Linked DNA regions of Homo sapiens: regions 1, 2, 3 and 5 are each linked to region 4. Evidence: promoter capture Hi-C in 16 types of primary human blood cells and fetal thymus (Javierre and others, 2016). All regions are on one chromosome and are shown on one strand. Each heading gives the region's core, a stretch centred on a gene start or on the middle of the fragment in contact. The rest is flanking DNA. Distances are from core to core; before and after follow the strand shown. Region 1 holds the start of PEF1 (penta-EF-hand domain containing 1). Region 2 holds the start of FNDC5 (fibronectin type III domain containing 5). Region 3 holds the start of TINAGL1 (tubulointerstitial nephritis antigen like 1). Region 4 holds the start of TXLNA (taxilin alpha). Region 5 holds the start of SYNC (syncoilin, intermediate filament protein).

Region 1 (6,091 bases), core at 1,655-4,154, 530 kb before region 4:
CTGTAATCCCAACACTGTGGGAGGCTGAGGCAGGTGGATCACCTGAGGTTAGGAGTTTGAGACCAGCCTGGCCAACATGGCGAAACCCCGTCTCTACTAAAAATACAAAAAATTAGCCAGGTGTGGTGGCGTGCGCCTGTAATTCCAGCTACTTGGGAGGCTGAGGCAGGAGAACTGCTTGAACCCGGGAGACGGAGGTTGCAGTGAGCCAAGATTGTGCCATTGCACTCCAGCCTGGGCGACAGAGCAAGACTCTGTCTTAAAAATAAACAAATAAATAAAAAATTTTTTTCAAAAAAGGGAAAACTGAGTCTCAGACTTTTGCAACAAACTTCTGCAAGGGAGTGACAAAGCAGGGATTTGAAATCAACTCTCTCTGGCCTCAAAAACTAAGCTCTTAAGCACTGAAATCCACCAAGCTCGTTCCCCCATAGGACCAAAGGGTGCTTGAATTTTACTACTCCAATACCCAGTCCCTGCTTGGGTACCCTGGACTGGAAGCAGTGGAAAATTACAGGAATTCTGACTCCTAACAATAGGCTGGAATCCTCCAAAGCTATGTAGTGGGTGGAGGGGAGGCAGCACTGACTGAGATGCTTTAAAACAACTCGTTTCCTTTCTTAGAACACCTGAGACCAGGAGGCGGACAAGGGTATGGTAGGAAAAAAAAACAACATTTCTTTTTCTATTCCAGACTCTTCTCTCTGTGCTCCTTTTCAGTATTTCACTCCAGGAATAGCCCAGGCAGCATGGCATCATGAGAGCAGTCACGGCAGCAAGAGCTGCCACCAGACACTGGCATGTACTAGGCACTAGCAACACGCCAGGCTCCCTGCATTTTAACCTCATTTTAGCCCTTTTCACAGGTATTATTTCTCCCTTTATACAGGTGAGGAAGCTGAGGCTCAGAGCCCTTAGTTTGTCCAGGGGTATATAACTATTAAGTAATACAGCTAGAATTCTAGCACAGTTCTCTCTAACCTGTCACTGCTTTTAGGATGCACACCAATTGTCCCTAATGCTTATTAGCATGTAGATTCCTGGGTACAGAACAGGTCTGAAGTGGGACCCAAAAGTGTGCTTTCTTAAACAAGCTCTCAGCTGATTCTGAGGCAGAAGACCAGCCACTGGGAAACAAGGCGCTATGAATGTTTTTTCAGCCTGTGTTCCTCAGAAATACTAGAGTCAAAAAAGTGACCAGACATCTGAAAAGAAAGCCGGGAGGCGGAGTTTCTATGGTTAGATATGTTTAAGAAATACTGCATATTATATTCCTTTCTGGATGATTTACAATGTACATTAGCAAATTAAGGATTCTGAAATAGCTTGTGGTCAATAAACTTATTCAGCTATACTTAAGAGTATTTCCAAAACTTTAGTTAACTACAGAATCCTCCTATATTAACAATATCTATTAAAACCTCCCAAGACTCAGCAAATGGAATGGACTTTAGGAAGCAACTGCTATGCTACACTTCCTAACTCCAGCCCGCACTGGCCTCTCTCTTTCCTACCTCTCTCTAAGGATGCAATAAGAGAAGTCCTAAGCTCTGGTCATGGCCTCACCCTCACTTACTACGTGTGACTTTTGGGAAGCCACTTAACCTCTTTGGGTTTGCTCCTCAGCAGTTAATTAGGGGTAATAATACCTGCATGCCGATAGGGACTTCATGATTAGGATAATGGAGGTCCAAACACTGTGTAACCCGCACAAGACTGCACTCCCTGGAAGGACTGTTACATCTTTTGGCCTGTGACTAAACTCAGTTGAGCACTGTGTAATATACCAATTGATCTTGTTTTCCCACATTTCGTTTATGGATTTCATCTCCTAAATAACTGTGTGATCGCAGCCCTCTGTGGGCTTCATTTCCTCCTCTGTAAAATGAGGGCTCTATTTTGAGGACCCTCCGGGCACTGGCCTTTTAGAAGTCTACTAAAAATCAAAATGCTAAAGGGCAACACATGTTACACCTCACTATGTACCAAACGCTTCGTAAGCATCACCTCCTGACTCTCCACAACAGCTTTATGAGGCAGATCCTATTATTCGGCCCTATTTTACAGGCGGAAACTTGGACTCAGAAAGGCAAAACAGCTTGCTCAAGGGCTCACAACTATTTAGGTGGTAGAGCTAAGATATGAACCTACCTCTGACACCAAAGTGCACTTCAACACCCTACTATCACCCAACAAAGAATTCTGGCCACAGAATCACCTTGCTGCGGTATTCCTGACTGAATCAAGATACGCTGGGGAAGAGGCATCTGAAGATAGCCCGGGTTCTGACCTCGGCCCTGCTGCCTAACTGCCTGGTGACTTCAGGTAAGTTCTGTGTCTTCTCGGGGTTCACTTTTCTACACGCGAAATGGCGGTGTTGAACTAAGTCAGTGGTCAAACCAGCTCACTTGTGGCGCCTGCTACAACCAGAGTTTCCTGATGACTCTGATGCAGTGTGGGGTGGGTCCGGAAGCCTGGATTTTTATCCGACGCCCCAAATGAGATCGGCGGAACCAGAACTCTAAACCTCCGGTCATGGCTGATGCCCCCGCCCAAGGCCCCCATGAGGGCCTTGGGAGGCTGTGGAGCCCAGGCCAGCGCCAGCCTGGACCTGTGGGGTCCAAGGTCCCCAAATCCTCGAGTGAGCGACGTCAAGGGGGCGCGACACGACCTCGCGAATGTGCGGTCCTTCATGACGTGAGCAGGGCGCGACCGACGGTCCCTTTTCGGTTCTCTACAGCGCAAGGCCTCGCTGAAGCGAACCCATCGTGGGAAGGGCGCGGAGAAAGCGGGGAGAAAGAGCAGGGGGACGTCGGGCCTGCGCCTGGCACCGCCGCTACCTGGATTCGCGGGCCCCTCACACACTCACCTGCCGGTAAGGATAGCTGGCCATGGTGATTCTGACGTCACACTCAGGCAAGGGGTGGGGCTTTCCGCTCTCAAACCCGCCCCTCGTCTCGGCTTTGGGGCTGGGCCCGCATCTGATTGGACGTCCGCGCCTGTCAATCTTGGGTGCTGTCGGCCGACGGAAGTGACGATGGGGGCGGTGGGCGGATGCCTACCCGAGAGACCAGGGGAGCTAAGTGATTGATGGAGCTTCCGGAAGTCTTGGCGGCTGTACCAGCGCTAATGTTCCTCCTTTTCCTGAGGTGGAGTGGGCCGAAGAGGTGGTCAGGTTGGGAAATTTAGTGAGAAGCCTGGGTGGGGTGTTGCTGCGGTAGCCATGTTATAACCTGGCAAATGGGACGCATGATAGTGACGTAATTGCTGGAGTAGCTCCTGAGTTTCCGCAGATGAGCCGCGGGAAAGGAGACGAGGGGCGGTGGCCAGGCGGTTGCCCTGACAACGGGGAACCGACCGACTCTTCCCGGTAGGGAGAGGCGATGGCGGAATTACTCCTCTAATGTCAAGGTACTGGGTACCAGTTAGTACCCTTGTAGTGGGATACAGATCTGTGGTCTTTGGAGAAAAAAACCCCAGATCATTAGAGTTGGAGGAAAATTGAATTATCTAGTGCCTCTTTCTTCATAAATGGGGAAACTGAGGTGCAGAGAGGCAGTTGCCTTGCCCTAGCTCACAGTGGGTCGCCTAGAACCGGGGTCAATGGATGTCCAGTTCTCAGCAGGGAGGTCTAGGTCGGTCCCCATCGTAGGTCAAATCCTGGTGACCGAGTGATCTCAGCACCATGTACTTGCCACTCAGTGGTTCCGTTTCTACACTTATTTGTGTGCTTATTTGATTTCTTTGTCAAGTTCTTTCATGTGGGCTAGGGTTTTGTCTGTTTTTGCTTGTCATTATAACTCCAGTACCTAGTATAGCGACTGACACGATTATTAAAATAAATGAATAAATGAATGTTACGAACTGTTATCCAGTCTAGTCCATCTATCTAACCAAGTGCACTTTCCAAAATCACAGTGCTGATCATGCCACTTGCCCACTACACAGCCTACAATGGATGCTCTTCATCCACGCCTACAAAATAAGGCCCAATCTCTTCATTCTGGTACTCCAGGCCCTTCAGAATCTGGCCCAGCCTCAACTTTCCAATCTTACGGCCCCTTCTGCTACTCTGTATTTCTGTGCTCAGTTCCACCATTCAGCACTTCTGCTTTGGAGGGAGGATCTTTGTTTTATCACTTTCTAACTGTATCACCTTAGGCAGGTTTTTTGTTTGTTTGTTTTTAATTTCCAACTTTTAAGATCAGGGGTATATGAGCAGGATGTGGTTTGTTACATAGGTAAATGTGTGCCATGGTGGTTTGTCGCACACATCATCCCATCACCCAAGTGTTAAGCCCAGCATCCATTAGCTATTCTTCCTGATGCTCTCCCTCTTCCCACCTCCCTCTACGCTCCGACAGACCCCAGTGGTGTATGTGCTCTCCTCATTCAGCTCCCACTTATAAGTGGTAACATGCGGTGTTTGGTTTTCTGTTTCTCTGTTAGTTTGCTGAGGATAATGGCTTCCAATTCCATCCACGTCCCTGCAAAGGACATGATCTTGTTCCTTTTTTATGGCTGCATAGTATTCCACAGTGTATATCTACCACATTTTATTTAGGCAAGTTATTTAACCTCTCTAAATTTCACTTTTCTTAGCTGACAGGAACAAATGTGTAAATTTGAAAATGAGCTTATTATACCTGCTCATGCCCCAAACTTAGGTTCAAACCACTCCTTTCACCTGGACCAGCAGCCCTCCCAACTCCAGTCCTGCAAGGCTCAGTTCCAATTCCATTCTCCACCTAACCCTCCCACATTCCCCTTAGCTCCAGAGTTAGCCACTCTCTCTTGCCACTCCCCCTTTGCACTTGGTACTGTCACTGTGTGGTATTCCAGCCTGCCTTGTATAAGAGTTTTCTTTTGGTGTTTTCCCCAAAACCCATTCCTCTCCATCTCAGAAAATCCACCCAGTCTCTCAGGCCAAAAACCTAAGATCATTCCTGTGTGTCCTTTTTTTCTCCACACACTCCCTCACCTCCCTCATCTCCATTTGCTCTAATTCAAACATGTACACATCTGCTCTTTTCTCCCTGTTCGCACTATCACTGTAGTCCAAGACACTATCATCCGTGCCTGGATCACTACAATAGCCGACTGACCAATGTTCCTGCTCTCACTCTTCTCCCCACGCTTCATTTTCTCCACAGGCAGCCAGAGTGGTTATCTTATTCCTTGGCTTCAACTCCCTGGGGACTTCCCATCACTCTTATAATAAAAGCTAAACTCATCCTAATGACATTCATGGCCACACATACCAGCATCTCCAGCCTCATTTCTTGCTGTTGCTGTCCCCCTTGCCTCATTCCAGCCATGCCGGCCTGGTTGTGCCATTCCTGGAATGTACAGAGCTCATTCCTGGATGTTGGCTTTGGCTGGTCTCTGACTGCCTGCTCATTCCTGCCTCCAGGTCTTTGGACTAGCTTTTCCCTCTGTCTGGGATAGTCTTCCCTTGACTTTTCACTGGTTGGCTTCTCCTTATCATCCAGGTCTCAGTTCAGATATCACCTGGGGTGGGGGGAGTTTCTTGACACTGCCCCCCAAGCATTCCCATCATCTATCTTATTTTTTCATAATACATGTCACTAGTTGAATTGTCCACTTTGTTTACATGTATATTGTAGAATTGTCATTTTCTTATGTAGTCCTCTAACCTCAGCACCTAGAATAGTGCCTAGCATGAATTCAATGTTAGTAGTTATTATTATCATGTATTGAGTGCTTACTAGGTGCCAGACGTTGTGCTAAGTACTATGTGTTGTTTAATTTTCACCACAGTCTTTTGAGATAGAGACTATTACCCATTTATAATGAGGAGCTGAGGCTCAGAGAGGTTAAGTGACCTTCCTGTTATCAAAAAGATAAATGGAGCCCAGGCGCAGTGACTCGCGCCTATAATCCCAACACTTTGGGAGGCAGGGAGGAGGACCGCTTAAGCCTAGGAGTTCGAAACCAGCCTGGACAACATAGTGAGACCCTATCGCTACAAAAAATAGTTTTAAAAAATTAGCCAGGCATGGTGGCATGTGTCTGGAGTCCCAGCCACTCCAGAGGCCAAGGTGGGAGGATTGCTTGAGCCCAGGAGGTC
Region 2 (6,081 bases), core at 1,212-3,711, 690 kb after region 4:
CCCAGTGGTGACAAAGCCTTTACATACACAATCTTCATCATTCCATCACCTCCGCTATCAATATCTCCATTTTACAGGGAAGGAAACAGGTTCAGAGAGGTTGGGGAAGTTGCCCAAGGCCACACATCTAGTAAGCACTGGAGCTAGGTCCTAAATGCAGATGTCTCTGAGATCAAAACCTTAATTTCTGTGTTCCACTTGAAAGTTCCCAAACCCTCCCTCACTGACTGATTCTCTTCTAGAGAATTTTCAGACATATGTCTGAATGGGGCCCCAATTTTCAGACATATGTCCAAATTGCTGTTCATCTCCCTTGCCCCAAGTTCCTATTTCCTTTCTATTTCTCCATCACCACCACTGCCACACTCCTACCCCCATCTGCCACTACTGTCTTGATGTGTCCTTCCCTCCTAAGGACAGTGGAGCATTACCTGCTGGGAGATGGCAAATCCGATGACAACCTCATCCTCCAGAACATCCCAGCTCACCACTGCAGAGTTGGCCTTGAGGTGCCTGACGGTGACGTTCACTGGGGCTGAGGGACTGTCTGGGGGACGGGGAGGCACCTAAGCCTGAGCATCCCCTATTGTGAGGCCCAGACCCACTGTCTCATAAGTAAGAAGGGGAAACCTGGGGAAGGCCATGCAGGAGGGGAAGGAAGAAACTAAGGCCTCAAGTGGGGTCCAGTGACATGGCTCTCAGCTCTTCAGTGGGTTGAAGAACCAAGCCCAAGAGGCCCCAGGCTCCTCATGACTGGGACGGAAGCCCCTGCTGGCCACAGGCCGGCCCCATGAGGGGTCCAAGGCTCAAAGTGATGGGCCTGGGCCGGGGCCCTATCTAAGGGATGGGTGGTTAGAGTTGTGGAGAGAGTTATGTAGGGGACATAGGTGGACAGAAACTGAAGGTTAGCTGATGAAAAGCAGACAAAAGGACTCCCCAGTCCAGTGCTCTTTTGACAATACTGCCCTGTCCAATGAGTGACCTTGCGCGAAGGAGAAAGACCCAGAGATCGAGAAGTGTCAGGCTGGGGTGAGCCCTGGACTGGGAGTGAGGAGAACAGAAGTATCCTCAGAGCTGTGGTGGCCCAGGCAGAATAAAGCCTGCGGAAGAGTCTGTGTGAGCCTCTTATCCATGCTCTTCCAGCCCCAAGATGCAGGTGGGGAGGTGGCAGGGGAAGATGGGGTCACTCAGAGCAGGGCCCCTCCATGGCGAGTGGAGAGGAGAGAACAGGTAGGGGAAGAGGATGAATGAGGAATCACTCCAGAAGAGACAGGAGGGAAGTGGGGGTGAGAGTGATAGGGATAGTGGGGGTCAGTGAGGAAAACCGTCCAGGAGAGGGGCAGTGCAGTCACATAAGGCTCAGTATCTTCCAAGGGGCAGGTGCAGCACGGGGCAGAGCTGCGCCTGAGCAGCACCCCTCACCCCACAGAGAGTGAACTTGAGACCCAGGGGGCTGGGCCTGGGACCTGAGGGAGACAGAGCCAGACATGGAGGGGGAGGTGGAGAGACAGGACACAGACAGGTGGTGGCAGACACAGAACCAGAGGACAGAGAAGTGGGGCATCTGAGAAAGACAGCTGCGAGAGAGCGCTCCCCGAGCCACGGAGGGAGAGATGAGCCGGGCAGCGGCAGCCAGGAGGGACAAAGACAGAGTGGCAGGAGAGGCTGGGCAAGGACGGGCCGGCCCCATGGGGCAGGCCAGACACTGTACCAGATCAGGGGTGCCGGGGCCCACCCCACGCCCTGCGCCCTCAGGTGCCAGCCCCCATCCCCTTCACACGTGCTCCTGCACAGCGGGACCCCATCTGCCCCTGCAGAGTTGGCTTGCAGGGCTTTGAGAGGTCCTGGGGACACAGAGAGAGGCCCAGGTGGGGGAACTGGTGTCCTCAGCTGCTCCCTGGGTCAAAGAAGGGAGCTAGGGAAGCTGAGGCAAAGACCTGGGGTTAGGGGAATGGGATTAGGGGACTGGGGACCACAAGACCCTAGGAAACCCAGGGCTGAGGTGACAGGGGAGATTTGGAAACTGAAGGACAGGTCTGGGGGTCAAGGAGGTAGGAAGACGCTGGGGGCTGGGTTAGGGGAGCAGTGTTTGGGCCGAGACAGGAGTCCCTAGGGGGCAGAGAAAGGACCAGGGGACTCCCAGGTAGCTGGGCTCGAGAGGAGCCTGCCCCGGCGCCGGCCCCCCGCCCCGGGCCCCCTTACCCGCCTGCACCAGCGCGAAGCAGACGCAGCCCAGCCACAGGCGGAGCGCGGCGCGGGCGCGGGGCGGCCAGGCGCTCGGCGACCCGGGGTGTATGGTGGCTCCTCCGGCCGGCAGGCCCGGGGCGGCGCAGGGGGACGCGGCTCCGGCGCCCGGCGGCCGCTCGCGCTCGCGCTCCGGCCCCCGGCCCGGCCGGCCCGGCCGCTCCGGCCGCCCTGCGCCGCCCCGAGCCGCCTGCATGTCGGCTCCGCGGACAGCGACTCCCGCGCGGCGGCGGTGGCGGCGGCCGCGTCCACGTCGGGCGCCCGGGGGGCGGGGCGCCCCCGCTGCGGGGAGAGGTGCGGGGGCGGGGTGAGGACCGGAGGGCGCCCCCACTCCCGCCCCCGCTGCCTATTAGGTCCTCTGCCGGGGAGGAAGGGGCTTCGCGGACCCACGGCTCCCGCCCTCTCACCGAGCGGGAGCCCAGCGGGGTTCTCCGCGCCCCCGCCGCGGTCACTCTCTCTCCCGTGCACAGCCCTGACTTGGCTGCCGCTTTCTGCCCTTTCCCAGGGTAGAGAGAGGACAAGTGCCACCGAGATGCCCGTTTGTGCCCCCACCCCTAAGCGCGCCTCCCTTCCCTGGGCCTAGGGATCCCCTCATTCCACGGTAGACCCGAGGCCTTGCGGCTGGGGCAGACGGGAGCAGAGGGGAGAGATCACAGTAAGGCTGGGGTGAGCAGAGAGTGCTAAGTGGACACTAGGGCTCCGTGTTTCCAGTGGGGTTGGGAAGAGGCTGCTCTGTCTCACTGGAGAGTCCAGCTCTGTGACCCCAGGCCAGTCCTTTTCCTTCATTTTCATCCCCATAGTGAGGGCAGTAATGAGCGTCTACCAGGGGCCAGATACTATGCTGAGCTTTCTTTGCATTATGTGGCTTAATTCTCAGGGCAACCCTGTAAAGTCATACTCTGCACACTTTGCACAGGAGGAGCCTGCAGCTTGGACAGGCTACTTGACTTGTCCAGGGACCCGCAGCAGAGCCAGGATTTGAACACAGGCTGATCTGACTCCCAAAGCTGTGCTTAACTGAACTGTCTCCCCACCCAGAGTGACTTCACCCATCCGGAGATTCGTGAGACTCTAGAATTGGCCGGGGCCAGCTCCTCCCCAGCCAGAAAACAGTCTGCAGCAATCTCTAAGAGCATCTCTGAGAAGGGGAGTGGCTCCAGCCCCCTTCCCTCATCTCAGCCAGAGAAACAAGGTGGAGGAGAGAGGCATGGACCAGGGCTCAGGGCCTTTTGTCTCAGCAAGAACCCCTGAGCCCCCTCCCACGACTATCCGAAATTCCACTACTAGCGGGGCATTCCTTTGGGTCTTAAAGGTTTTCCAGAAGCCCTGGAAGGGCTAATTTTCTTTGGAAAGGAGACGTCTTGCAAAGTTCTGCCACAGAAACGTCTTCAGGGTCTTCCTCTCCATCCCCCTGGTTTTACATTAAGGAAGTGAGGTCTACCGATGGGAAGAGCTTGGTGCAGATTCACACAGTGGGTCAAGAGGAGCGATAGACAACCCTCCTCTCCTTATGCCCACCCAGGACTCCTTCGCTGGCCCTGTGTTCCTCCTTGGTCACCTTGGAAGGGGTGAGATGGAAGCGAGCTTAGGGGCTCTTGTTGAGCAGCAGAATTTTCCTGCCCATCCCCTCAGTGCCCCCAGACCTGCCCCACTCGGCAGGGTGACACTGCCCAGCCCTATCATTTCCCCCGCCACATACCTTGTCCTGGGAGAGCCTCAGCTGGGACCTCGACCCGTTTGGGAGAAGAGCCCCGGAGCCAGAGCACCTCTCTCTCTCTTTTCTCTTTGCTCTCTTTCTCTTTCTCTCCCCTTATTATCTTCTCTCTCTTTCTCCCCGCAGCTGCTGCCTGCCCCACCCCACCCGGCCCCGCCCCACCAGCTGCAGCTTAGCCCCTAGGGACCCCCCACCCCCCATCCATCAGACAGGAAGACAACCAGGAGGCCCGCAGGAGCAACTGGAGCCTCTTCAGGCCTCCAGCACAGGAACCAGCAGGAAGGAGAGGGTTCAGTTAGAGGACACAGAATCTACTCCCGTCCCTGCAGGGGAGAAAAGGAGGGAGGGTCCTGGTGGGGTCTTGGCCTCCAGTCCAGCGCTGGGGAAAGGGGAACCTTGGCGCCATCTGCTGGCCTCTTTGGGTAAAACCTAGATAGATGTAGGGCATTGGGAGGGAGGAGATGGCAGTGCCTGAGGGCTTGAGAGAGAAGGCGGCTGAAGGAGGGGGCTTGGAGGATTTGGAGAGTTGTGACTGTGGGGGTACAGCCTTCTCAGTCCTCATGATGCATGGGGTGCTTGGGCCTTAATTCTGGGGAAAGCCCTGGTGCCTGGAATCTGGCAGCCAGTGAGAGCTGGCTGGGAGGATTTAGTGGAGCCCTGGGTGAACTTGGGAGGGAGCTGTCAGAAGCAGCCACTGCAGGCCAGGGCGCTGGCTCACGCCTGTAATCCCAGCACTGTGGGAGTCCGAGGTGGGTGGATCACCTGAGGTCAGGAGTTCGAGACCAGCCTGGCCAACATGGTGAAACCCCGTCTCTACTAAAAATACAAAATTAGCCGGGCATGGTGGTGTGTGCCTGTAATCCCAGCTACTCTGGAGGCTGAGGCATGAGAATCATTTGAACCTGGGATGCAGAGGTTTCAGTGAGCTGAGCACACCACTGCATTCCAGCCTGGGTGACAGAGAAAGACTCCATCTCAAAAAAACCCAGCCACTTTATGTACCCCATCCCTTAGCGCAAGGCTTACGATGCAGTTGGGGCTCATTAAATGATTGTTGACTGTATGGAAAAAAAATCATTCTTCCATCATATGTTTATTGAGCACCTATTATGGACCAGGCCCTGTGTAATATTCTGGAAACACAGCAGTGAAAGAATGAGTGAAACCATGAGGACCTGGGTAGGGACTAAGGGTGCGCCTCTGTCCTCCCAAGCTGCACTCACTGGGCTTCATTTGGAGGACTCCACAGAGACCCCCTTGAGGGCTGGCCGGTCACTTACACATTGACACCTAATGGGGTCACCAGCATTTGGACCCTCCTGCGTGTCCAGAGTCTCAGCACCTAACTCAGGCTGCAGGTGCCCAAGCCAGCCCCGGGTACCCATTTAGAATAGGAAGTTTCCTTTTTATAGCCTAGGATGGTCATGGCCCCAGTCAAGGATGGTCACTAGACACCCCTCACCCGCCCTGCAAATCACAGGAAGAATCAGGAGGTCAGGAGTTGCTTTGGGGATATAATAATTGAGCACCTACTTTATCCATGTTATTGTTTTATTTTATTTTGAGACGGAGTTTCATTCTTTTGCCCAGGCTGGAGTGCAGTGGCGTGATCTTGGCTTGCTGCAATCTCTGCTCCCCAGGTTCAAGTGATTGTCCTGCCTCAGCCTCCTGAGTAGCTGGGACTACAGGTGCCCACCACCATGCCTGGCTAATTTTTTTATTTTTAGTAGAGACGGGGTTTCATCATGTTGGCCAGGCTGGTCTCGAACTCCTGATCTCAGGTGATCCACCCACCTCAGCCTCCTAAAGTGCTGGGATTACAGGCGTGAGCCACCGCGCCCGGACTTTATCCATGTTATTTTGAGTCTTAGGCTGGTATGTGTCATTAACTTCCATTCCATATCAGGAAGCTGAGGATCAGAGAGGTAAGGGGACTTGCCCTGTGTCACACAGCCAGTGAACTATAGAGACATGTCTCAAATTAAATTATGCGGCTGCAAGTTGAGGGCTTGATCCAGTCTGCCTACCGTATCCCCTCACCTCTAAGGACCTCTGAGGACAAGGATCCAGGGCTCAGGGCTCACCAGAGGACATCACATCAATCTCCTTCCCTGAAGGGCTCA
Region 3 (6,139 bases), core at 1,182-3,681, 600 kb before region 4:
GCTCTGTGCCAAGCTGAGTGATGGTGGGAGGCTCTGGCTCTGCTCCCATCCCCTGCTCTGAGTCCCTGCCTCTTATGCACAGACAGGCAGGCAGACAAGGACAGGCAGATGGCCACAACTCCCACACAGATACACAGACACCTCTTAGACAGGGAGGCACAGGCAGGACACACACACAGACATACAAGCCAACAAGTGCACAAATGCAGGCAAACAACACACGCTGGCAGACAGACAGATCCATAATGGACACAGAGACAACATCCAGACAGATACACACACACAGATGCACAGGTATGTAGCAGATGGACAGGTAAATGGATAGACAAGCAGACAATCAGTCAGACAAGGACAGGCAGATAGCCAAAATATCCAGACTCACAGATACACAGGCACATAGCAGATAGACAGGTAAACACACTTCGGAAGGCCAAGGCAGGCGGATTGCTTGAGCTCAGGAGTTGGAGACCAGCCTGGGCAACATGGTGAAACCCCATCTCTACTACAAATACAAAAAAAATTCAGGCAGGCATGGCGGTGTGCACCTGTAGTCCCAGTTACTCAGGAAGCTGAGGTGGGAGGATTACTTGAGCCCAGGAGGTCAAGGCTTCAGTGAGTCGAGATCGCGCCACTGTACTCCAGCCTGGGTGACAAAGTGAGACCTTGTCTCAAAAAAAAACAAAAAACAAAAAGCAAAAAAAACCCAGACGATCAGATGTGGACTGACAGACTCAAGCAGAAGCAGAAACACCCCCACAAACACCGCAACTCAGATATACACATGCATACATGCACACAGAGATAACACACCCAGACTCACGAGGGTAGCCTATGCGGTGTGATTTTGGGCAAAAGAGAGGCCAGATGTCTCTAAACAAGCCCCCAGCCCCAGAACCATGAAAAAGTAGGTACCATAAAAGTAGGAACTCTGGACACGAACTCTTTTGAAAGAAAGCAGCTTTCATCTCTTACCCTGAGGATATGACATTTACCAATACCGAGGGGCCCGTCCTGCAGTAAGATGAATGGAGTTTAGATAAGAAAAGAGACTTCCCAACCAGGAGCACGTTGAGACCTGTAGTGGGTGACTAAGGGTGACTAGGGGTAAAGGAGTGGGCTGGTGGCAGGCAGGGAGCCTGTGTTCTGGCTGCACGACCTCAGGCAAGTGCATTCTTCTGAGCCTCAGTTTCCCACCTAGGCTTTGTCCTCCCAGGTCCCTGCAGGGAGCAGATGGGCAGCTCCTGGGTGTGTTAGTGCCAGTGCTGGGGCCCCCGGATATTATCCCTCCACCCCCACCACCAGGGCAGGACCCCCTTGGTGACTCACCACCCAGTGGTCCATGGCAGGGGTAACCCAGCCACAGGTGCCGGTGATCCTCGGCTCTCTCCCTTCCCCCAGGGTCTGGCCAGCTGAGGATGCCCCTTGGTTTGGGGGAGGTTTGCAGGGAGGTCAGTGGGAGGGCAAAGGGAGTCCCTGATGCCTTCCCCGGGGCCACATGTGAGGCTCAGGCCTGGGCCTGGGAGGGTTTGTCCAGGTGTAGTCTCTTTTATCCTCTTTGCTGGTAGAGACCTCTGGCCTGGGCCCAACCTGTTGAAGAGAGGGCGTTGCACAATAGGGAGGTAAAAGGTGACGGCAGACCTGGCGGGACAGAAGCCCCATTGTTTGGGTCCCAGGCCAGCCTGGGCAAAGAAAGGTTTATGCCTGCGGCAGGAAGGAGGGCCTCTGCAGGGGGTGCCAGCTGGTAGGGCCCTTGCCTTTGGACCCTTGGAGGGGGACAGGTGCCAAGCAGGATGCCCTTGGGTTTGCTAGAGAGGGCAGTGCTCGTCTAGGGGCCCAAGCAGGCAAGGGAAGGCAGACTCAACAAGGGATCAAAGGGTGCAGAGGCCACCCCCACACCCTGCCCACCTCCCAGGGATGAGCCGCCCAGGGCACCTAAGGATCATACTCCTGGAATTCCAATCATTCCTAGGAGCTGGGGTGGCTAGGGGGGCGGCACCCAAGCCTAGGGGGCACAGTGGAGAGGGGTGTGCATGGCTATTTTTATTACCGAGGGGTCAGGAGAGGCTTACAGAATTTTGCCTCACATGCCCTCCCCATCATTTCCCAAACTTGTGTCCATAACCCAGAGCTCGGCTGCCCATATCCCCCCTTCTCCACCAGAGCCCCTCAGCTCCACAGGGATGCCCACTGTGAAGTCCTTCCCAGTGTGAAACCGCAATCCTTCCTGCTTGGGGTTCCCCTAAGGGAACGGCTTCCGCCACAGGAGACCCAGCCAGGACAATCGTGTGCTTGTCGTTTCTCCACCCTGCAAGCCCATGAGTTGTGGGGTAGTTACTCCAGGTACAAGCCAGGCGCCCCTCCCTTCCGCCACTGCTGGGGCGGTGCAGAGGGCGGGCGGTACAAAAAGCGCCCCGCCCCGCGCTCCTCTCTTGACTTTGAGCGTCCGGCGGTCGCAGAGCCAGGAGGCGGAGGCGCGCGGGCCAGCCTGGGCCCCAGCCCACACCTTCACCAGGTAGGGACGCTCCCCTGCTCAGAGGGCGGAAGGTGTAGACAGAGAAGAAACAGGGGGAGGGGGCAGGTAGAGGAACCAAGACAGATGGCAGAGAGAGGGACAGTGGAGGGGGACAGAGGGACACAGGAACAGAAGAGAGGTGTACCCAAAAGACCGGGGGAGACAGGAAAGCACAAAGTCAAGGACCCAGGTCAGGGATGGAGGCTGCTGGAGGGCAGAGAGACCTAGGACAGGAGAGAAGACCTTGGGTCCACAGGATGAGTGTTGGGTGGGAGCACCAAGAATGCCACCACCCTCATTTCCTTGTCCTTGAAGGTCCCTGCCTAGGTCAGGGAGGGGCTCCGTTTCTGCCCAGTCCCCATCCCCCTATAGCCAGGGCCCACACACTGGGGCTCCTCTGCCCGTGTCCTGCCTGGGGACTCAGGAATCGGGATCTCCCTCCCTGCTGGGCCCTCTTGAACTCACAGCTCCAGGAAACTGGGAGACTCATCCCTGGTGTTCCAGGGAGTCTCTGCTGCCCACCATCTCTGCCCCCCAGGGCCCAGGAGCCACCATGTGGCGATGTCCACTGGGGCTACTGCTGTTGCTGCCGCTGGCTGGCCACTTGGCTCTGGGTGCCCAGCAGGGTCGTGGGCGCCGGGAGCTAGCACCGGGTCTGCACCTGCGGGGCATCCGGGACGCGGGAGGCCGGTACTGCCAGGAGCAGGACCTGTGCTGCCGCGGCCGTGCCGACGACTGTGCCCTGCCCTACCTGGGCGCCATCTGTTACTGTGACCTCTTCTGCAACCGCACGGTCTCCGACTGCTGCCCTGACTTCTGGGACTTCTGCCTCGGCGTGCCACCCCCTTTTCCCCCGATCCAAGGTGGGCACTAAGATGGCCAGGAGGGTGGGTCACTTTGTCCACCTCAGACTCAGCAAGGCTCAAGAGCAAAGCTGATGGATGCACTGACATTTCCAGGGGAAGCTCTGTAGAATCTGGGACTCTTCCCTGCCCCTCTGGGAACTTTACTCTCCAGCAAGACTGAAGAAGCTCCTTGGTTAGAATTCTAATTTGGCCCAGGGAAAGGGCAACCTCCCACATTTTCTCCCAATCCTGTCTCTTTTCCAGACACGGAAGGTGCTGGCCGCACCTGCTGACTCACTCTTGGGCTGATAAGGCACATATGGGTTGGTGAGGGTCATCTTAGCCATTTTTCTGCCTTTGCTGAGGATTCTAGGATCCTGTGCCCCGAGATGGCTGCTCATACCTGGGAGATGGGTCAAATCTTTTCCTGCTTTCAGCCTCACCATCATCCTTTTCCATGCACTTGCCCCTGTCCAATAGGAGAATCACTTGCGTTCCTTCCCACAGTTCCATGGGGCTTGGGCCGGCAGACTGCATACCTGAGCTGTCATCTCAAGAGTGCTGTGTTATCTTAGGACGGTTGCTTACCTTCTCTGGGCCTTGGCTTCCCCATGCTCCTCCCACTCCCCATCTCCAAGCCCTAACTTATTTAAATGGAAAAGGATCCCAGGAATGTTGTGGCTGGCATCCAAGTAAAGTAAGAGGAATCCAGGTTGGAATCATTGAAGAACTTCCCAAACAGCAGTTGGTGTGTGACCCTGCAGGATTTGTCTTCAGTTATAGTTTAATTTCAGTGAGAGCTGGTGTGTGTGTGTGTGTGTGTGTGTGTGTGTGTGATGTCTTCAGTTATAGCTTAATTTCAGTGAGAGCTGGTGTGTGTGTGTGTGTGTGTGATATCTTCAGTTATAGTTTGGCTTCAATTTCAGTGAGAGCTGGTATGTGTGTGTGTGTGTGTGTGATGCCTTCAGTTATAGTTTAATTTTAGTGACAGCTGGTGTGTGTGTGTGTGTGTGTGTGTGATGTCTTCAGTTATAGTTTAATTTCAGTGAGAGCTGGTATGTGTGTGTGTGTGTGTGATGTCTTCAGTTATAGCTTAATTTCAGTGAGAGCTGGTGTGTGTGTGTGTGTGTGTTGTCTTCAGTATAGCTTAATTTCAGTGAGAGCTGGTGTGTGTGTGTGTGATGTCTTCAGTTATAGTTTAATTTCAGTGAGAGCTGGTGTGTGTGTGTGTGTGTGTGTGTGTGATGTCTTCAGTTATAGCTTAATCTCAGTGAGAGCTGGTGTGTGTGTGTGTGTGTGATGTCTTCAGTTATAGTTTAATTTCAGTGAGAGCTGGTGTGTGTGTGTGTGATGTCTTCAGTTATAGTTTAATTTCAGTGAGAGCTGGTGTGTGTGTGTGTGATGTCTTCAGTTATAGCTTAATCTCAGTGAGAGCTGGTGTGTGTGTGTGTGTGTGTGATATCTTCAGTTATAGTTTGGCTTCAATTTCAGTGAGAGCTGGTATGTGTGTGTGTGTGTGTGTGATGCCTTCAGTTATAGTTTAATTTTAGTGACAGCTGGTGTGTGTGTGTGTGTGTGTGTGTGATGTCTTCAGTTATAGTTTAATTTCAGTGAGAGCTGGTATGTGTGTGTGTGTGTGAGACAGAGAGAGAGAAAGAGAGAGAATCTTGGAAAGGTTCAAGGTACCTGACCTCCAAGGACCTGGCCAATTAGCCCATCCTCTCTGGTTCTGGTTCCACTTCTCTTCTCTTCCCTTCCAACAGGATGTATGCATGGAGGTCGTATCTATCCAGTCTTGGGAACGTACTGGGACAACTGTAACCGTTGGTGAGTGTTTGGAGCTTAGAGGGGTCTTGCTTTGTGAGCCTGTGGCTGACAGACTTGGTTCAAATCTTATCCCTGACCCCTTTTGCAAGGGAGAAGTCTTTTCCCTTCTTTGAACCTCAGTTTCCTCATCTGCAATAGAGGAATTTTAACACTGACCAAGTCAACTTATCTAACATCATTCCAACAACATTCCTCAAGCATGGCCAGCCATGGGTGCCTGGCCCAGGGGTCACCCTTGAACTGAGATCCTTCCCCACCCCTCCTGGCTTGGGCTGGGCTATTCCTCCCAGCTATTCCTGCTGTCACTGCAGAGTCAGAGGGAGAAGGGGGCGCCAGGAAGGAAAGCTCTGACTGCAGCATCCGCTGCCCTGAGCGGATGAGGGTCAGGGATGGCTGAGCGGGCGGCCAGCCAGCCTCTAGCAGGGCCTTCCCTGAAATGTGGCCCCTTTTTCCTTCCCCACCCCTCCCCACCATTCCCAGTAGGAGGAGGAAGGGGTCATGGGTACCCCCCTATTCAGTCTGAGATGGGAAGTGGAGAAGGGCCAGGTAGGAAACCCTGAAAGCCTTAATAGAAATAATGGGGAGCCTGCGACTTGGAGGAGGCGGCCCTGCACCCACTCCACCCCCACTCCCTCTTTGCCTGGGACTAAGAGGCCCCAGAGAGAAGGAAACTTTTTGGAATGCATTGCGCATAAGATATTTCCATTGCCTCACTAGGGTGAGGGGTGCCCGGGTCACAGTGAGGGAGGGAACGTTTCAGCATGTGTCTGGGTGTTCAGCGTGACTGTGTGTGCACTGTGTGTGTGTGTGTGTGTGTGTTCAAAAGGATAAAACATGCCTGGCCCGCGTCTGCAGGTTCTGATAGGATGGCTCTGGACGTTGAGGGGTTAATGCGCTCTCTCTCTCTCTCTCTCTCTCTCTCTCTCTCTCTCTCTCTCTCTCTCTGTCTCTCTCT
Region 4 (6,164 bases), core at 2,643-5,142:
AAAAAAAAAAAAAAAAAAAAAATCCACATCTTCAGCTGGGCGCGGTGGCTCATGCCTGTAATCCTAGCACTTTGGGAGGCTGAGGCGGGCAGATCACTTGAGGTTAGGGGTTCAAAACCAGCCTGACCAACATAGTAAAACCCCGTCCCTACAAAAATAAAAAAATAAAAAAAATAAGCCAGGTGTGGTGGTGGGCACCTGTGATCTCAGCTACGTGGGAGGCTGAGGCAGGAGAATCTCTTGAACCTAGGAGGCAGAGGTTGCAGTGAGCCAAGATTGTGCCAGCCTGGGCGACAGGGTGAGGCTCTTGTCTCAAAAAAAAAAGTCCACATCTTCATGAACCCTCAGACTCTGGAGTTGGGTGTCGGCTTTTTTAGCCAGCTTTTGTGGGAATTGCCTTTGACCTATTAAAGAAGGAAAGTGGGTAATGGAGTCCCAGCCACTCAAGAGACTGGATATCCCCCGAGAATGGCTTGGGTTACCAGCTATGGACCCTTGGAAGATGAATCTAATCCTTCTCACTGGTTTTTCTTTGCAAATTCATTTGCTTTTATTTTTCTAATAACAATAAACTCTATTTTCCATGTTCTCAGGGCCCCTGGGTAGACAGACACAGCTTGATTTCAGAGCAGACATAGGCGAAGAAAACATGGCATTGAGTGTGCTGAGTCCAGACAAATGTTATTTATATACACATCCAAATTTGAAGAGAAAATGTATTTCTTTAGGTTTCAAACACTGTAATAGATATAAAGCAAAAATAAAAACCTGTTGCAAAGTTCTAAATTGTCTTCTTTGGCTTGGAGTGACCCTAGACTGGATTTGGGGGAAGAGAATGAGGAGGTGTTTAAATTTGTAGCTTAACAGTGGAAATAAGAGTTGTACCAACCTGCACCTGCTCTAAAGTTTTTTTCATCGACTTTATTGAAATATAATTGACATACAATAAACTGTACATATTTAAAGTATATACACGTTGATAAATTGAAACACATATGCACCCATAAAACAACCACAAGATAGTGAATATATCTATGACCTTCATAAGCCGTAAGCTTCCCGCTTGAGAATCCCTCCTTTCTGCCCCACCTCCAGCAACCACTGATCTGTGGCTGTCACTGTAGTTTAGTTTGCATTTTCTAGAGTTTCTCTAAATGATTTTGACTTAGTTTCATCAGCACCACTCTACAGCCCTTTGAACCTTTTTTTTTTTTTTGAAACGGAGTTTTTTATTCTTGGCATCCAGGCTGGAGTACAATGGCGTGATCTCGGTTCACTGCAACCTCTGCCTCCTGGGTTCAAGCGATTCTCCTGCCTCAGCCTCCCAAATAGCTGGGATTACAGGTGCCCGCCACCACGCCCAGCTAATTTTTGTATTTTTAGTAGAGACGGGGTTTCACGTTGGCCAGGCTGGTCTTGAACTCTTGACCTCAGGTGATCCGCCTGCCTCCGCCTCCCAAAGTGCTGGGATTACAGGCATGAGCCATCGTGCCCAGCCTGAACCTCTTAAGATCAAATAGTTCACAGACTCCTCCCTTCAGTTTAGATAATTCCTAAAGCAGAGATTACAGACAAGCAGCCAGAAAGTTGATTGAACCCACAGGAAGGTTTTGCTTGGCAGAGCGTGTTTAAGTTTGAATTAGTTGCCAACATTTTTTTTTTAAATCAAATGTCTGTCTTGAAAAAGACTGTCCTGAAGTCTCCATTTTTAAAAAGAGGCCAAGCACTGTGGCTCATGCCTGTAATCCCAACCCTTTGGGAGGCCAAGGTAGGAGGATCACTTGAGGCCAGGAGTTCAAGACCAGCCTGGGCAGCAAAGTGAGATCTGTCTCTACAAAAAAATTTAAAAGTTAGCTGGCTGTGGTGGCACATACCTGTAATCCTAGCTACTTGGGAGGCTGGGGCAAGGGGATCACTTGAGTCCAGGTGGTCGAGTCTGCAGTGAGCTATTATGATCACTGCACTCCAGCCCCAGCAGCTGAGTAAAACCTGTCTAAAAAACAAAAATACAATCTGGCCCTACCCGGCCTGAGTTTCTGCTTGCTAACAATGTGCAAGAGCTGCTGTATTTTACTGCAATCACCACCTCTCCCTCACTCTGGCAGGTGCTAATATTGTTGCTATATATTGTTTATAGCAAAGGAGAAAGTAACTTGTTAACCTATGTTTCTGTCAATTATTCTTGCCTGTTCTCATTACCCAACTGGCCCCTCTAGGCTATTGTTGACCCTTCTACTACATCCTCTATCCCTCACCCCATGCATACATTTTTATGTTCTTTATCTCACCTAGAACACCCTTGTTATATGGAAATCTATCAAGGCCTGATTTATATGGTGCCTTCTCAAGAGATTTCCAGAATGCTTTTCTAGAAATAATCAGGGCCTTGGTTTCAGGACATCTAGATTCCAACCTTTCTGAGCCTCAGTTCCATCATTATACTAAAAATTGAATATCTCTTATCCAACATGCTTGGGACCAGAAGTGTTTCCAATTTGGGATTTTCTCAAATTTTACCGGTTGAGCTTCCCCAATCTGAAAATCTGAAATCCAACATGCACGGCTCTGAAGTCTTTCACTGAGCCTTTGGGGGAAATATTTAACATCCTAACAGCCCTAAACCAACGCTCAATTAGCACAACAGTTTACAATCTTCTCTACCCACAGCCTGATGCGAGGCTCTGGGACTAGACTATTTAGCCAACAGTTCTTGCAAAATTAACTGACTTATAAGTAAATAGTAATTTCAACACCTCACTGCTAATGCTGTAACAACTCTGCAGACCTAGGGAGCAAGTACGGTTTGCAGAGCACTGGGAAGGCTCTGAAGTGACCTTTGAACTGGGCCTCAAAAAATTTTGGGTTTGGCAAAAGTCAAATCTCTTAGGCTTCAAATTCCAGGCACAAGGATTGTTGGGTTTGATTTCATTATCCAGAAGCAATGGGGATACAGAATTGTGATCTCATGTGTAGGGAACTGTGGGGGTTTTTTCTACTTTAACCCCAGTGAGACTTTGTAGAGTGTGGGGTAGAGAAAAGGCTCATGAATATGCCTGAAGCCTAACTCAGCACCTTTCTGAGGAACTGACTGCCAAAATGGTAATGGAGAGGGGAAAATATGACCTACTTTCACAAGTTACCTTGACTGCCTCAGGGAAACCTGCTGTGGTAGTGTTTCTTCTGGGTGAAAGACCAGGTAATTACCTGGGTGCTGGTCTCAGACTTACCAGTTTTGAATCCCTGTTTTAACCACTCACTATCGATATGACCTTGGATAAGTTACCTAACCTTTCTCTTACTGTCCTTTTCCGTAAAATGGGGATAACAGATAGTAGTTATTTCTATGAGTGGTTATGAGAACCAAGCTATTAGATAGCGGGAAAGCACACAGTAAGCGTTCAAGGAACTGCTATTGTTATTAAAAGCCTCCTTTGGAAGAAGGACATTGAGGCCCAGAGAGAGAACAGAACGTCCAGCCACACAGCAAATCCGTGATGAAGTTGGGACTGGAGTATGGGTCTCCTGAGTCTCAGCCCAGGACTCTATCCCTCTTCCCGAGTCCTCGGAGTTCCCGGATGGAGTCACATTTGTTCACGGCCAGGGAGGAAGGTTTGATGGAGGCCTGCAGGAAACAACAGCCAGGCGCAAGGCTTTGGGAGTTGAAGCATAGCTTCTGCGAGATAGAAACAAGGTTGACATGGGCACTCGTGCAGAATGACGGGCTCCTTTTGGACTCCCAGGACTACAGTCCCTTATGCACCTTGGGATCTGCGGCTAGCCCCTGCGTAAAGAGGGACGCGTAGTCTTTTCCCTGCCCCGCCCTGCCGGGGCGCCCGCCTCCGAGGCCGCCCTCGCTTCGTCCTTCCCAGCAAGCTCCGCGCCGGCGCCGGCTATTGATTGGCTGAGGCGGGAGCAGGCGGCTGGCCGGCAGCAGTTACTCGGGGTTTCCGGTGCGAGGCCAGAGGTGGGGAAGCCATCGGACGTCGGCGGTGAGGTACGTGCAGCGGCGGCCGGTGGGCGAGACTATTTGAGAGTGTGCGGGCCGGGATGTTCTCGGCCTGTGGGGAAATCACGCCAACTCCCCGCGTGGGCCGGGGGCTGTCTGGGGATATGCGCATGCGCGGGCGTGCCTCGCGGCTTGAGGGCGCGCGGGGCGTGGGTGGCTGCGCGCGCGGGGGGCGCACGTGGGGCCTGAGGGGCGGGGGCGGTGCCGGGAGTCCCGCCACGTCAGTCTCCGGCCCTGAGCCAATCCCGCGCCCGGCCTGCCGCGAGGGGGCCGGTTGTGCCGGGAAGTGGCTCCAGGGAGAAGAGGCCTCTTCCCTCACCCGCTGTGGGAGCTGCGCCCCGAAAGCCTGCCCCGGCACGTCGGGCTCTCCTGACCCGCCAAGACCAGAGAGCCGTTGGCGCCCTCCGCCCGGGCCTGCCGGTCCGTTTATTTTAAGAAGCTTTGTGCGCCTGCTGTGGGGATTTCTGATCCAGGCTGCGAAGAATTTCGAAGTCTGGAAAATAGCAACTGTGTTTGTTTCTAAAGGATCTTCTCCTGACCCAGCATCGCTCATCACAATGAAGAACCAAGACAAAAAGAACGGGGCTGCCAAACAATCCAATCCAAAAAGCAGCCCAGGACAACCGGAAGCAGGACCCGAGGGAGCCCAGGAGCGGCCCAGCCAGGCGGCTCCTGCAGTAGAAGCAGAAGGTCCCGGCAGCAGCCAGGCTCCTCGGAAGCCGGAGGGTGTGTGCCAGCTCTGCGTTGCCAGCGGGCAGGGGGAGGAGCTGTGGGGTCGGCCTCGCTTCTGGACTTACAGGCCGAGGCCAGGTTGTCCGGGAGGAGGAGATGTAGAATGAGAGGACAGTGCTGGGGGCCGCGGTCCCCCCTGCGCTCTGGCGAGTTGGCGGAGCTGCCCCCTCTAAGCACAGGAACAGAGTTCTGGAGAGAAGCTCCGACGGGATTAAGTCAGGTGGCAGCCAAACGAGGCACCCAGTCAGGAAATCCAGGTCCCGTTAGAAACACCTCAGCCACCAGCAGCTAACTGCCCTTCCTGTTTGAGGCATTTCTAGAATGATCTGAATGGCAAGAAATGGTTTTGTGGGGGGGAAGGAGATGGACTAGAAGTTGCTCCGTGCCATCCCTGTGTGCTGATGCTTTACATACTTTTATGATCTAACAAATATGTTCGGGTGGTAGTGAGAAATAGTTGTGTCATTTTACAAGTAAACAGACTTAAAGAAGTTAGGCAACGATTACTATAATTTCTTGATTTAAAAGATGTTTCGAATCTAAATTCTGACAGGAACTAGATTTGCTGAATGATACTCCATTCTTGCTTCTCAGTTTCCATAAAAAAAAAAGTTAGGCAACATTTAACTCAAACTGATGAGTTTGGCTGGGCCTGAAAAATCCCAACCAGTGGTATAATCGTCTTCTTTCTCACTCTACCCCTCATCCTCTCCTGCTGTAGGGGCTCAAGCCAGAACGGCTCAGTCTGGGGCCCTTCGTGATGTCTCTGAGGAGCTGAGCCGCCAACTGGAAGACATACTGAGCACATACTGTGTGGACAATAACCAGGGGGGCCCCGGCGAGGATGGGGCACAGGGTGAGCCGGCTGAACCCGAAGATGCAGAGAAGTCCCGGACCTATGTGGCAAGGAATGGGGAGCCTGAACCAACTCCAGTAGTCAATGGAGAGAAGGAACCCTCCAAGGGGGATCCAAACACAGAAGAGATCCGGCAGAGTGACGAGGTCGGAGACCGAGACCATCGAAGGCCACAGGAGAAGAAAAAAGCCAAGGGTTTGGGTGAGCAGAGGGCGGCTCTTTGTGAAGCTGGTGAGGAGAGGGAGTTTGGACTTGACGTTCTCTGGGCCAGTCTGTTCTGCCAGGATTCAAAGGAAAACGGTACTTCTCAGAGCAGCAAGTCACTCTAGTCTAATCAAAGCCAGGGATGTGGGGGCCACGGCATAGAGAGATGCAGGAGTTACCAGCACAAAGCCTTCTGGGTTTTGGAGCAACTGGAGCTTGGCATGGGACCTGTTCTCTCTTTGAGAAAATGGAGACGGGAGGCTAGGGTAGGCTCCTGTGCCAGCCAGTACTACCTGCTGTGTGACCTTGGGTGTGTCCCTTCTCCTCTCTGGGTCTTAGTTTATATTTCTCTTTACAGTAAGAAAA
Region 5 (6,122 bases), core at 2,252-4,751, 520 kb after region 4:
TCAGCCTCCTGAGTAGCTGAGACTATAGGTGCCTGCCACCACGCCTGGCTAATTTTTGTGTATTTAGTAGAGACAGGGTTTCACCATGTTGGCCAGGATGGTCTCAATCTCCTGACCTCGTGATCCACCAGGGATCATGGCCTCCCAAAGTGCTGGGATTACAGGCACGAGTCACTGCGCCTGGCCAAAAAGTGACCTTTCTATCTTAGAAAGACTACAGTCTCCATCCCCCTCTTCTGCATCCCACTATCAGGGCCCTACTCCAAGACATCCTGTCTCACTGGCACTTTTGTCCTGGTCTTCTAAAAGGACTTCCTCCTCTCCTCACCTCAATCTATTCTCTACACCACCACAGTTAACTTGCTACAACACAGAGTGAACTATTGCTCCACTTCACCAATAAATACCCAAATTGCTACGCATGGTTTCAAGGTCCTTAAAGATGTGGCCCAAACATACCTTTTTTTTTTTTTTTCTTTTTTTGAGCCAGAGTCTCGCTCTGTTGCCCAGGCTGGAGTGCAGTGGTGCAATCTCGGCTCACTGCAACCTCCGGCTCCTGGTTTCAAGCAATTCTCTACCTCAGCCTCCCGAGTAGCTGAGACTACAGGCGCCCACCACCATGCCTGGCTAATTTTTTGTATTTTTAGAAGAGACAGGGTTTCACCATCTTGGTCAGGCTGGTCTCGAACTCCTGACCTCATGATCCGCCTGCCTCGGCCTCCCAAAGTGCTGGGATTACAGGCATAAGCCACCACACCCGGCCCCAAACATACCTTTTTTAGCTTCCTCTCACATTATTCCTGCAACCCACCCAATGCTTGACATCCTAGAGCTTGCATTAACTTTTTACACCTCCTACTCTAAGCCCACGGTGTCCAGCTGAGAATTGCAGCTTCTCAAAAACCACCTAACTAGAGAACCCTGTACTACCTGGGAAGGCAGAGCTCCTAGAGCCAGGGCCAGGAAGGATGCACCTGCTCAGCCAGCCAAACTCACTCTGATATTCAACAGTCCCTGCTTTCCCAGCAGACGGCCCTTTCATCATTCTCGTGCCGAGCCGCCCACCTTGGAATGACTTCACCGTGTTCAAGATTATTCTAGGCATTTTACATGAATACTCATTTATAGAATCCTCATCATCTATTGGCTGGGTGCAGTGGCTCACGCCTGTAATCCCAGCACTTTGGGAGGCCGAGGCGGGTGGATCACCTGAGGTCAGGAGTTTGAGACCAGCCTGGCCAACATGGTGAAACTCCGTCTCTACTAAAAATACAAACGATTAGCTGGGTATGGTGGTGTGTGCCTGTAATCCTAGCTACTCAGGAGGCTGAAGCAGGAGGATTGCTTGAACCTGGGAGACAGAGGTTGCAGTGAACTGAGATTGCGCCATTGCCCTCCAGCCTGAGCAACAAGAGCAAGACTCTGTCTCAAAAAAAGAAAGAAAGAAAGAATCTTCATCTATTATCTCCATTTTATAGATGAGGAAGCCAATGCACAGAGTAAGAACTCACACAAGGTTCCACAACTGTTGTAAGTGGTGGAGGCTGGAGAAGGCCTGCAGTATTTACCACCCTCCTAGGATAGGCGTGAGGTCCAAAAGAGGTAACTACAGCACATATAAAAAGCCTGGCATGCAGCAGTCACAATATACTTTTTTTTTTTTTGAGATGGAGTTTCACTCTTGTTGCCCAGGCTGGAGTGCAATGGTGTAATCTCCGCTCACTGCAGCCTCTGCCTCCTGGGTTCAAGCAAGTCTCCTGTCTCAGCCTCCCAAGTAACTGGGATTACAGGCACACGCCACCACGCCTGGCTAATTTTTGTATTTTTAGTAGAGCCGGGTTTCACCATGTTGGCCGGGCTGGTCTTGAACTCCTGACCTCAGGTGATCCGCACACCTCGGCGTCCCAAAGTGCTGGGATTACAGGCGTGAGCCACCGCGCCGGGCCCACAATATACTTCTATCTATCTAACAAATTTCTACTCATCCTTCAAGCCCTGCTCAAACTTCATCTCTTCCGTAAAGTATCTCCCAGACAGCCCCATGTGTGTTCTCAGGGCACTCTGTATGCAGCACATCTTCACACTTATTGCTCCAGTTACAGAAGTACATGTGTCTGTCTCCCTGATAGTGAGTTTCCTAAGGACAAGCAGAGTTCTCATTCTGCTCTATATCCTAGGGTGGGGCTCTGTAAGGGCAGACAGGCAGAAACCAGATGAACTCCAAGGAGGAAATCTGCCCAAGGTCGAATGGCAAAGCTGGAAGTAAAACCCAGGCCTCCTGACCTCCAAGCTGTGCTGTTAGCACACATCGTGCTGCCTCCACCACCCCACCCATGGTGCCAGGCCTCTGCTGGGTGCTGCCCTCACACAGCCGCCTCTTTTAAACAGAGAGAGGAGGGAAAGAAGCAGATGACAGGAGGCTCAGAGGAGAGGAAGCCAGCTTAGTTGGGGCCCCTGACCTCGGGCTTCCTTGGGCCCTGGGCAGCCTGCCTCTGCCACTCTGTCCCTGTCCCCAGAGAACCGCAGAGCTCTCCAACCCTGTTCAGGGATGTGGCTGGGAGTCCATGTGACATTGTGCAGGCAAGAGTCCGTGTGTCTGACTGTAGCTGTAGGTGTGGACAGCAGTATGGGTGAGTGTGTGTGTGTAAGACCGCTCAGCTTTGTGCCCCTGTGTGACAGTGAAGGGGTGTCGGGAGCTATGTATTTGCACCCTCACCTCTTGGTACACTGGGAAGTCCCAGAGCCACAGTATGACCTGGGACAGAAATACACCTCACCCCAAACCCCTCAGCCACAGGTCCCTTCCCCCAATAATCAGCCGTGCCCTGCCAGGAGGGATAGTGGGGAGGGCCCCTGGACCCTTCCCCCACCCATCCCAGGCCAGACGGGAGAGAACAAGCCCTGACAGACTCTTAACTTCAAGCTGGCAGATGCCCAGCCTTGCACCAAGTGGCTTCCACACAGCCACTTCAGCAGGGGAGGCCTCTGTCTCCAACTGACATTTGCAGGGAGGAATGAAGGCTAGCGAGAAGTGTCTTTGGCTGCTATGGGCCAAATGGCACTTGAGCGGTGGATGCCCACTCGCCTGGAAGGGTTAATTTTCATGTAGTCCCGGGAGGGGGAGGGGTATTATAAAAAGCCACAGACAAACGGAGGTGCCAGGACCCCGGGACGGCCCGACTCCCCGATGTCCCCTCACGAGGCGGCTCCAGTGCCCCACCCCGGCTGGACCACTACCCCTAGACAGGCGAAAGACGCCCGCGGTCGGGGGGAAAGGGAACCCGTCCAGCAGCACCCCTTCCCCAGCGGGGCGGCGACGCGGGCCCGGCACTGTCCTACCTCGCGGCCTGGGCGGCGCCGTCCCCGCCGCGCCGGGGCTCCGGGCTGGCCATGGCTGCGCGACCCCGGGCTGGCGGCCGCGTTATTAATAGCCGGGCCCGCGGGCCCCTCGCTCCGGCGCCCGCGCCCGCCGCACTGCCAGCTGCAACCGACACCGGATCCCGGCCGGCCCCGGGCCGGGCGCGCCCACTTGGCCGGGGCTCCTGCCGGGGGAGGAGGGAGCGGCCGCGCGGACCTGGGGGCGGGGAGAGGCTGCCCCTCCCGGACCAGCCTGGGGCGGGGGTGGGAACGGGGGCCTGGAGCTGTCTTTCCAAACCTCCCAGCCCCCTCGTCTTCCCGAACCTTCTCTCCACCCTTCCTTTCGTGAGGTCCCGTTGCAGGGGGAGTCAGAAGGGGGGTCTGAAGCCCCAGGGAGCACCTTCCCTGTCCAGCCTGGGAGGGTGGAGGCAGGGTTGGGCGGGCTGCTCAAAGGGAGCCAGCACCCCTCTCCCGCGAGTGTTTGGGGGTGTCCGCTGCCGCTCAGCGCCCTCTGGTCCCCACCCAAGAGGGGAAGGGCCGCAGCCACCCTCTGGGCACTCCGGGCTGTCCCCGGCAGCTGTCGTGAAGGGCGGGGCAGGGCGCGGCCGGGGAGGAGGGTTCACGGCCACACCCCGCGCGTTTGGGGACAGCCTGGAGCCTGGGGGCGGGCTGGGTGGCTGGGGTTAGAGAGAACTGCGGAGGAGTTTACGCCTATCACATTGAGTCCATATTTAACCCCACTTTCTGCCCCACCCTTTGAGGCTTCCTGGGGTCTCTCTCCTGCTCCACCTGTCACCCCACTCAGCCCACTTCTGTCAACTTCAAGACATACCTCCCCCCACGTCCTCAGCCCACTAGTGTGAGGGTCAAACCAGCACTGACGTCTTTCTCCCCAAGAGAGAAGCTGCTGGGCCCCTTCCCAGACCTGGGCTTCAGGCGTTCTTCCTTCGGATTCCTTTTTCCACTTAGCTACCCTGTCTGGGGAGGTCTTTGACTCAATCGCAGAAGAATGCTGGCACCATAACAAGCCCCAGGGGCTGGGGTGCCTGGGAGGCCGGTGGGGGAAGCATGCCGTGGTGTTGAATGTGTGTGGGCTTGTGTGCCCCTGTGTGACTCTGCGGTGATTGTGGGGTACATGTCTGTGTGTGAGCATGTGGATGTGTGATTGTGTGATCTCAGGGTGAATGTGTGTGGTGATTGTGCCATGGTGGAGTGTCTTTGTGGGGCTGGCGGTTTTGACTCTGTGTGGGGGGCATGCATATGGTCCCGCTTGTGACTCTGACTGTGTGCTTGTGCGTGACTGGGGGTTGATAAATGTTCATTCATCCTCGCGTCTGAGTGTGCTGCCTGTGGCTGTATATTTATATTTCTCTGTCTAATGCAAGGGGGTGGAAGATTTAACACCCAGGGCAGCCAAATATACCCTTGTAAGGTACGCACGAGAAAAAGCCAGGTTTTGAGGCTGCTGGTCATTTTCTGACTTACCCCCGAACTATTCCAGGGGAGGAGGCTGGCGAAGCCTCAGCTGCTGGGCATTTGACATCTGCTGCCCGCCAGAGGAGAGCTAAGGCAGCAAGGGCAGGCCTGCCAGAGGCTCTGTTTGCTGTGGTACCAAGCAACAGGCGGCAAGGGTGGCATTCAGAAGAGCTGGCTCTGCCCCTCCAACCCCCAGCCCAGGACCTGGCCTTAGGCTGTCCCTAGGACTGAATTTCTGACCCGCTCCTACCCTCCTGCTCAGCGCTTCTTTAGGCTGAAACCCTGAATTCCCCAGGGTCCCAGAAACTTCCCCACCTCCAAGCCTTTGTTGTTGTTTTTTTTGTTGCTGTTGTTTCTTGCAGTCAGGGTCTCACTCTGTCATCCAGGCAGGAGTACGGTGGTGCAATCATGGTTCACGGCAGCCTCAACCTCCTGGGCTCAGGTGATCCTCCCATCTCAGCCTCCCGAGTAGCTGGAACTACAGATGCACACCACCACACCTGGATAATTTTTGTATTTTTTGTAAAGACGAGGTCTCACTGTGTTGCCTAGGCTGGTCTCAAACTCCTAGGCTCAAGCAGTCCTCCTACCTCAGCCTCCCAAAGTGCTGGGATTACAGGAGTGAGCCACCACACCCAGCCAGGCCTTTTCTGCTGCTCCCTCTGCCTAGAAAACCCTTTCCAGCTCTTCACAGCCCACCTTTTACTCTCCTTCAGGTCTCAGATCACATCTCACAGAGGCCTTCTCTGATGCCTCCCCACCCCCTGCCCATAATGTCCACCCATTTATTTTTTTGTTATGGGCTTTTTTGTTTTGTTGGGTTTTGTAAAATTTTATTTAATAGAGATGGGGTCTCACTATGTTGTTAAGGCTGATCTCAAACTCCTGGCCTCAAGGGATCCTCCAGACTCAGCCTCCCAAAGTGCTGGGATTACAAGCAGGAGCCACCATGCCTCACCCCATTTACTGTTTATCCCTGTCACCCTGTTTATTTTCTGTGCAGCACTTATCAATCTGCAACAATACTATTCATTTTCTTTCTTTTTTTTTTGAGACGGAGTCTCACTCTGTTGCCCAAGCTGGAGTGCAGTGGTGCAATCTCAGCTCACTGCAAGCTCCGCCTCCTGGGTTCAGGCCATTCTCCTGCCTCAGCCTCCGGAGTAGCTGGGACTACAGGTGCCTGCAATCATGCCCAGCTAATTTTTTTGTATTTTTAGTAGAGACGGGGTTTCACCGTGTTAGCCAGGATGGTCTCGATTTCCTGACCTCGTGATTCGCCCATCTCGGCC

Evidence for each region. The method cuts DNA at HindIII sites, captures the fragments that hold promoters and counts their contacts. A CHiCAGO score of 5 or more calls a contact.
Region 1: a contact is called between the fragment with the promoter of PEF1 here and the fragment with the promoter of TXLNA in region 4, in 16 of 17 cell types (monocytes, fetal thymus, activated CD4 T cells and 13 more). The highest score is 27.9, in monocytes.
Region 2: a contact is called between the fragment with the promoter of FNDC5 here and the fragment with the promoter of TXLNA in region 4, in 3 of 17 cell types (fetal thymus, M0 macrophages and megakaryocytes). The highest score is 8.5, in fetal thymus.
Region 3: the fragment with the promoter of TINAGL1 here is called in contact with the fragment with the promoter of TXLNA in region 4 in 2 of 17 cell types (M0 macrophages and fetal thymus); the score reaches 6.0 in M0 macrophages.
Region 5: a contact is called between the fragment with the promoter of SYNC here and the fragment with the promoter of TXLNA in region 4, in 6 of 17 cell types (erythroblasts, M0 macrophages, total CD4 T cells and 3 more). The highest score is 9.1, in erythroblasts.

What each region holds. Positions count from the first base shown.
Region 1 is chr1:31,641,972-31,648,062 of GRCh38, forward strand. PEF1 (penta-EF-hand domain containing 1) reads right to left here and starts at 2,905. Exons shown (of 5, transcript NM_012392.4): 1 at 2,870-2,905. The coding sequence starts at 2,893. It overlaps PEF1-AS1 (PEF1 and COL16A1 antisense RNA 1), which reads left to right and starts at 2,165. Exons shown (of 6, transcript NR_184313.1): 1 at 2,165-2,325; 2 at 2,741-2,875. RefSeq lists enhancers at 2,635-3,405, 2,725-2,794, 3,035-3,374. The HindIII fragment of the contact is 8,144 bases long and covers 1-6,091 here.
Region 2 is chr1:32,868,451-32,874,531 of GRCh38, forward strand. It overlaps FNDC5 (fibronectin type III domain containing 5), which reads right to left and starts at 2,462. Exons shown (of 6, transcript NM_001441683.1): 1 at 2,203-2,462; 2 at 432-547. The coding sequence starts at 2,440. RefSeq lists an enhancer at 4,230-5,086. The HindIII fragment of the contact is 9,260 bases long and covers 1-6,081 here.
Region 3 is chr1:31,574,084-31,580,222 of GRCh38, forward strand. It overlaps TINAGL1 (tubulointerstitial nephritis antigen like 1), which reads left to right and starts at 2,432. Exons shown (of 12, transcript NM_022164.3): 1 at 2,432-2,512; 2 at 3,051-3,375; 3 at 5,121-5,184. The coding sequence starts at 3,066. It overlaps LOC105378626 (a long non-coding RNA gene), which reads right to left and starts at 3,814. Exons shown (of 6, transcript NR_188671.1): 1 at 3,761-3,814; 2 at 1,327-1,587. RefSeq lists an enhancer at 2,243-2,963. The HindIII fragment of the contact is 15,245 bases long and covers 1-6,139 here.
Region 4 is chr1:32,175,783-32,181,946 of GRCh38, forward strand. TXLNA (taxilin alpha) reads left to right here and starts at 3,893. Exons shown (of 11, transcript NM_175852.4): 1 at 3,893-3,994; 2 at 4,532-4,732; 3 at 5,460-5,795. The coding sequence starts at 4,564. KPNA6 (karyopherin subunit alpha 6) reads left to right here. Exons shown (of 14, transcript NM_012316.5): 14 at 1-781. RefSeq lists enhancers at 3,071-3,830, 3,831-4,589, 4,477-4,556, 4,677-4,836, 4,847-4,896 and silencers at 3,767-3,956, 4,097-4,276. The HindIII fragment of the contact is 3,390 bases long and covers 1,054-4,443 here.
Region 5 is chr1:32,699,269-32,705,390 of GRCh38, forward strand. It overlaps SYNC (syncoilin, intermediate filament protein), which reads right to left and starts at 3,502. Exons shown (of 5, transcript NM_030786.3): 1 at 3,340-3,502. The coding sequence starts at 3,392. RefSeq lists enhancers at 2,970-3,735, 3,736-4,501 and silencers at 3,862-3,911, 3,962-4,051. The HindIII fragment of the contact is 11,042 bases long and covers 1-6,122 here.